2 separate regions of the Homo sapiens genome follow, and region 1 is linked to region 2. The links are contacts of gene promoters, found by promoter capture Hi-C in blood cells and fetal thymus (Javierre and others, 2016). All regions are on one chromosome and are shown on one strand. The core of a region is centred on a gene start or on the middle of the fragment in contact, and the rest is flanking DNA. Distances in the headings are between cores, read along the strand shown. Region 1 has its middle 9.0 kb from the start of SNORA80B. Region 2 holds the start of GRHL1 (grainyhead like transcription factor 1).

The links. Contacts are between HindIII fragments. The CHiCAGO score rates a contact against its expected background, and 5 or more counts as called.
Region 1: a fragment that was not itself captured here is called in contact with the fragment with the promoter of GRHL1 in region 2 in 3 of 17 cell types (monocytes, non-activated CD4 T cells and activated CD4 T cells); the score reaches 6.4 in monocytes.

What each region holds. Positions count from the first base shown.
Region 1 is chr2:10,436,387-10,439,398 of GRCh38, forward strand. No RefSeq gene overlaps it. Among named protein-coding and RNA genes, the nearest start is that of SNORA80B, 9.0 kb to the right of the region's middle. The HindIII fragment of the contact is 5,238 bases long and covers 1-3,012 here.
Region 2 is chr2:9,949,622-9,952,942 of GRCh38, forward strand. GRHL1 (grainyhead like transcription factor 1) reads left to right here and starts at 2,072. Exons shown (of 16, transcript NM_198182.3): 1 at 2,072-2,232. The coding sequence starts at 2,213. LOC105373422 (a long non-coding RNA gene) reads right to left here and starts at 1,232. Exons shown (of 3, transcript XR_922784.4): 1 at 1,084-1,232. RefSeq lists silencers at 1,303-1,382, 1,533-1,582, 1,683-1,732, 1,823-2,362. The HindIII fragment of the contact is 14,804 bases long and covers 1-3,321 here.

The DNA.
Region 1 (3,012 bases), core at 175-2,674, 490 kb after region 2:
TGCTTCACATGACGTCCTACCTTGAAACCCGATGGGTGAGATTGGGTGAGGCGGAGAAGGCAGAGCCCCCCACTTGCCCCCCTCACCCCCAGGCACTGAGGCTTCTCGGGAATCCCTGGTGGGGACAGAGCCCGATTTGAAATGGGTCGACTCTTGCCTTCAGGGGCAGTTTTCCAGCCGGGCCCAGAGATGGTGCAAAGCAAACCCCCAGATCCAGCATGGGGGAGGGCCCATGTCAAAGAGGGTACAGGGTGACAGCCAGAAAACCCCCTAAGCGGAAGGGGCTAGCCAGCCACTTCGAGTCACTTAGGAAAATCTAGTAAGGAGGGAACCTGCGAAGAGATGTGTGGTCCCAGTAGCAGAGGTCACTGCTGGGGTGTGACGAGCACATGACTTCACAAGACAAGCCGAGTGAGGCCCGGGAAGGGGCAGGCCCTACCCACGAGAAAGTGCAAAGTGGGCATCAGCCAGGGCTCAAGAGGGCCGCAGGGGGCACACGTGGCTTGCTCTGCCCACCGGCTTCTGGCCTGCCCTTGGTTGCTGCAGGCTATCTGTGAGGGGCAGTGCCTGGCCCTGACACTGTCGGGGAGGGAGGGGTTGACCACCTGCTGATGTGCCAGGAATGTTCCCATCTTTGGCTTCTGATGGGTCTGCTGCCTTCGTCGGCCTCATGAGCTGGGTTGGCATGAGCCAGCCCTCCTGGACCCTGCAAAGGTGAGGACCAGGTCGTGAGCAACTCTACCATGTCCCCCTGAGCCAGTCCACTGCCCAAGCCACCCTCCAGCTGCTTAACAGCATGTTCCCAGGGTAGGGAAACACCGAATGAATGCTGGGGTCCTCTGACCTGGCTTGAATGCTGCCTCACTATCTGCGTGACTTGAGTTCATCTCTGAGTTTATGTCTTCACGCGGGAAACCTATTTTACAATCCTCGTAAAGTCAGTAATACATTCCAATATCAAAAGCGCAGTGTGGAGCCAGTCCCCACTCTCGGCCCAGGCCTCTGGTTCTTCTGCCTAGAGGCAACCTCTGTTACCCGTTTCTTACAAGCTCTTCCAGAAATATGCCATGCATATGCAAGTATGTATGTACACACACAGTTTGTTGGGGTTTGATTTTGCTTTTTACACACACAGTAGCATACTACACGTGCCCCTTGCTTTGCTATCCTCACTGAATCTAGCTTGGAGCTTGTTCCTTATCAGTACTGATGAATCTGCTTCATTCCTTAACCACTGTATATCCCGTTCCATTGACAATTTCATCAGTACCTGCTTGTGTACAAGAGATTGTTTACAAATGATGCCACAATGAATAATTTTAGAAGAGTATCATCAGAGAAATTCTTAGAACTGCTGGGTCAAAGATAATGTGGATTATTGATATTATCAAGTTCCCTCCAAAGAGACTGTTGCTCTAATTTACTTTTCCGCCCAGTGCTTGAGCACACCTGCTCACCCCGCGAGCTGGGGAACTCTTGTCTTTGCCAATCTGATAGGTGAGAAATAGATTCTCATAGTTTTACTGTGTGTTTCCTTTGGTTGACAAATGTCTTCATGTTCAAAAAGTTTACTGTTGGCTGGGCGTGGTGGCTCATGCTTATAATCCCTGCACTTTGGGAGGCAGAGACGGGTGGATCACTTGAGACCAGGAGTTCAAGGCCAGCCTGGCCAACATGGTGAAACCGTCTCTACTACAAATACAAAAATTAGCCCGGTGTGGTGGCATGCACCTGTAGTCCTAGCTACTCAGGGGGCTGAGGCAGAAGAATCGTTTGAACCCGGGAGACAGAGGTTACAGTGAGCTGAGATGGTGCCACTGCATTCCAGCCTGGGTGAGAGTGAGACTCTGCCTACCAAAAAAAAAAAAACTTTACTGTGAGCCAAGTTTATGCCTTGCCCACTTTCTATTGCATAGTTACTTTATTGATTTGTTGTTTTTAATATGAAGAAAATTAGTCCTTTTCACGGGCATTGTAGCCGTTGGTCCCTTGCCTTTTGACTTTGTTTCCAGTAGGTTTATGGTCTAATCTGTTATATTTAAAACTTTCATCTATCTGGAATGTATTTTGGAGCAGGAGTTGGGGATACTTTTATGTCTTCCAGATGGTTCTCCAGTTGCTCCAACACTACTCCATCCCCAGAGTCTGGGGAAAGTGGTCAGGGGGCAATAATGAGTATTTTTAAGAAGCACCCTAAGTGATTCTAATGCACTCTGGCTGCCTTTACCTTTGCCCAATAGTTCAATTCCCCTGAATCCCCTCTCCCGGGGGCCAGCACGCCAGGAAGAAATTCACAAGTGGTCTTGGTGGAGCTGTATTCACTTCAAGTCACGAGTCTAGAAATGCCCAGTATCTGTGCACGACCAGACAGCACCATCTTTAAAAATGACGTGGAGATACCCAAATGCAAAGCAGGACTTAAGCCTCCTGGAGGACGGTGCCTGGTGTCGACACAGCCCCGGCTACCGTCTGGCTGTCCTCGTTCTCTGGTCTCTCCTGCCAAATTCGCCTGCCTGCTCCCATGTACAAGGGCCAAGGAAGATCACTTGATCAAGCCTGGCCACATCATTTCACAGACCCAAGTCTGGCTTTGTTGGGGCCTGTAAGTGGCTACGCCAAGCTGTGGTCAGAAGCGAGGTTTCAGGGGCCACTCACGTGTAGCACGGGATTACCTGCGGCTGTTTCTGTCCCCACTGGCACTACTGACCGTTGTTGGATTACATTTTCCCTAACTGGCTGAAAGAGCATTGTTTCCAAAGCCTTAGTTGATTTTGAGTGGAATACCCCCCTTTTCAGTCCAAGCTCACCACTGCCACTAAGCGATCTCGGGAATTTCTTCCTTTTTAAGATGGAAGACCTAATTTACCAAGATTCTAGGCTTGGTGTCTAGCTCAAATTTCTTGGCACACAGTACATACTCAGTGCCAACTCTCTTAACATAGTGGGTCCCGGATCCCAGGGAACTGCCCTTGTTGGGGAGCTCAGAGTTACCCAAACACACCAGCATCCTAC
Region 2 (3,321 bases), core at 822-3,321:
CAGTGCTGGGCCCGGGGTCAGAGGACAGAAACTGCGAAGGGCGGTCTCAAGTGAGGCTGCCGATTCCGGTCCCTGAAGGCCTTGGACCAGGGCACAGAGGAGGGACTGCTGGCTGCAGGAGGGCCCTGTGACCTCATGCTGCTCCTCACTTCACCTCCTTCCCTTGGCTTCCACGCTTCCATTGCTTCCGACCTCGGTGTCCCCGTCTTCTGTCTCCTCCACTGGCTCTTCCTCCCAGCCTTTCTGTGTCGGAGGCTCCTGGATCCAGCATGGGTCCCATCCTCTTTCCTTCCTGCCTTCTCATGGCTTTAAATGGCCTCTAGACGTGGGCGGCGCCCAGATGTGAGCTTCAGCCCAGACTTCTCCCTTGCACTCCAGCCTCGTACCCAGGAGCCCACCTGATTCATGGATTTTTATCTCCCATACATCTTGAGCTTAGCACGTCCAAAACAGACTCTCGTTCTCCCCCAAATCTTCTATGCCCCAGGTCTTCTGTATCCCAGGGGATGGCAAATCATTCCTCCAGTTGCCCAGCTGGAAACGCTGTAGTCATCCTTGATTCTCTCTTTCTCTCACACCCCATATCCAATTTTCAGACAATCCTGCTGGTCCCACCTTCAAAGCATATCCAGAATTCGGCCACTTCCCACCACCTCACTCTATTGCCCTCGGCCTGCATCATGGCAATGGCCTCCTACCTGGTCCCCACCACGCAGCAGCAGAGAACTATTTTAAAATGTGAGACCCTGTCACTACCCTGCTCCAAGCCCCTCCAAGGCGTCCCCACCTAGCCCAGAGGGAAAGCCACAGTCCTTACGGAAGCCGGCAAGGCCCTGCTCAATCCGCTCCCCTGCGCCCACTATCTCTGACCGCAGCTCCCGCCTCCCTGTGCCCCACCAGCCACCCGGGTCTCCTCAAGGGTCACAAAACACACCAGGGTCCCTGCCTCAGGTACAGTCCCACCTTCGTGGCCCCTCATCTCCTTCAAGCCTGAAAGCCTCGCTCCTCCCCGCCTCCCCAGGGCCTGCCTGCTTTACCTTCCAACCAGCCACACCATTTACTTGTTTTTGTATTGCCCGTTACCCCAACTAGGAAGGCGAGGAGTTGTGTCTGTTCTGTTGACTGCCCTGTCCCCGGCGTCTGGGGCCGCGCCTGTCCGAGGGTCAGGTCCGACGCTGGGCATGTGGGGACTCAGTGAGCGGACCCTGGGAAAGACGGCAGCTCGGGAAGGACAAGTGGGGGCCGTCGCGGTGGAGTGGTGCCCGGGGCCGGCCCGGGGCGCGCGACTGCACGGGCAGCGTGGGGCGGCCGCGCGGGGAAGTGGCGCCCGGGAGGCTGCGGGGCACAGACATCGCGGAGCCCCAGGGACTGCCGCCGAGGGGACCGCGGGAGCTGCGAGGGCAAGAAATCCTAAAAGCGCGCGGCCGCGGTGGGCCAGGAGAAGGGACATTCCGGAGACGGCTCTCGGGGGAAGCCACGGGACTCGGGCGTGACAGCCTGCGAGAACCGAGAGGTGAGACGCGCGACCGGGGAGCGCGGCGACCGGCAGAGGCGCCCCCGCCGGGCGAGCGCAGGGGCAGCGCGGGGCGCTGGGGCCGGAACAGCGGGCAATGTGGGCACGGGGCGCGGAGGCCTGAGTGAGCGAAGAAGGAGGCGGCTGTACGGCCGGGGCTCGTCGCGAAGGGGATGGCCGGGGACGGCGGGGACGGCGGGGGCGGCGGGGGCGGTGGCGGGGCGCGAGCGGGGGCGCTCTCGGTGCGCGCGGAGGTTGGCGGGTGCGCGCCGCAGCCGCAGCGCTCCCTCTCCTGTCAGGGCAGGCGCGTACGGCCGCGAGTCGGGCGCGCAGCCCCGGGAGCGCAGTCCCGGGCGCAACCTCGCGGAACGCGCGGCCCCCGCCCCCCGCCCCGCGCCGCTCGTCCCCGTCAGCCCCGCCCCGGCGCTCTTCTCGCCGACCAATCAGGAGGCGCGACCGGCCTCCCAGCCCCGAGGCCTCGCCCCCAGCCGGCGCATCGCCAGCCAATGAGCGGCCGAGCCCGGCGCCCAGTGCGCGCAGCCCGCGCGGAGCCGGCTCAGAGCGAGAAAAGCAAACCCAACCCGTCGGGGCCGCCGCTCCGGACCCGCAGCCGCCGCCGCCGCCTCCTCCCCCCGGATCGGGTGTACTGTCCCAACCCGAAAGTCCAGTTCTGCGGCCCGGCAGCGGCGAGCGGGCGCGATGACACAGGAGTACGACAAGTGAGTGAGGCGCAGGAGTCCGGCCGCCGCGGGGGGGCCGCGCTGAGGGGCCGCACCTGCAGCGAGCGAGCCGGGCGCAGACCCGAGGCCGCGCGGGCGGGCGGGCGCGGGGCGCGAGCCGGGGGCCGCTGTCCACTCCACGCCGCCACGGCCTTTGCCCCTTAGCCCTGCCGTGCTCTTTGTTCGGTCGGAGCCTCGGGAGGAGAGACCCTGTCCTCGGGGAAACTCGACACCGGAGGGGCCACCCTCCTCCCCTCCTCCGCGGCCAGGTTGGGTCCCCTCGGGCGCGCACCTTGGGGTCCGGGCCCCCGGCGCGGTCGGGTGCGGCGCGAGGTCGGGGCGCAGCCAACGCCCCCGGGCCTCCCCGCCCCCCTCTCCTGCCCGGTCGGCCTCGGGAGCCTGGTGGGGCTCGCGCCGCGTCGGGACAGGTGGACTTCTCCAGGTAATCTGTGGTCTCAGGCTCGTCACTCGGCGACCTGCTGGAACCTCCAAAACAGAAATGTAGGGAAAGGTTGAAGTGCCCCGATGTCCGGGCGTTTTCTTTTCCCTGGCTGGCGGCATGAGTGGGAAAACGGCTGTAGGAGTTATTTTGCCACTTGCATCATTGATGGTAATTACAGATTACCGTGTTTTTAGTGCTCGAGAGAATCAAGAGGATGAAACTTTGAAATCCGGGTGTTAAACGAGAAAGTACTGTACAAGCTAATATGCTTTTTAGAGTGTGTGATTTAAAAGCGTATTTCGACAAATGTGAGGTGGTAGTGTAATAAGGCATGGGGGATTAACTGGGCGAGGGAGTTTTCTGTATTTTCTTTGCAGCTTTTCTGAAAATATAAAATTGTCCTAAAAATTTTAAAAACTTACTAAAGAAAAAACAGGGAAATCGCACCAGGCCAGTCAGTATATTTCAGATCAGGAAGTTTAAGGCAGATAGGTACCCCTCCCAGTTTCTTAGTTATTTGTGAAGGATCGGTTTTTGTCAGTGTGTTCTTTTTCTGGATGAGATAGATATTTTGTATGGAGTATCTTAAATGGATTACTCTTATGTTGTAGAATATGCAGTTAAATTATTGCCTGAAACATATTTCA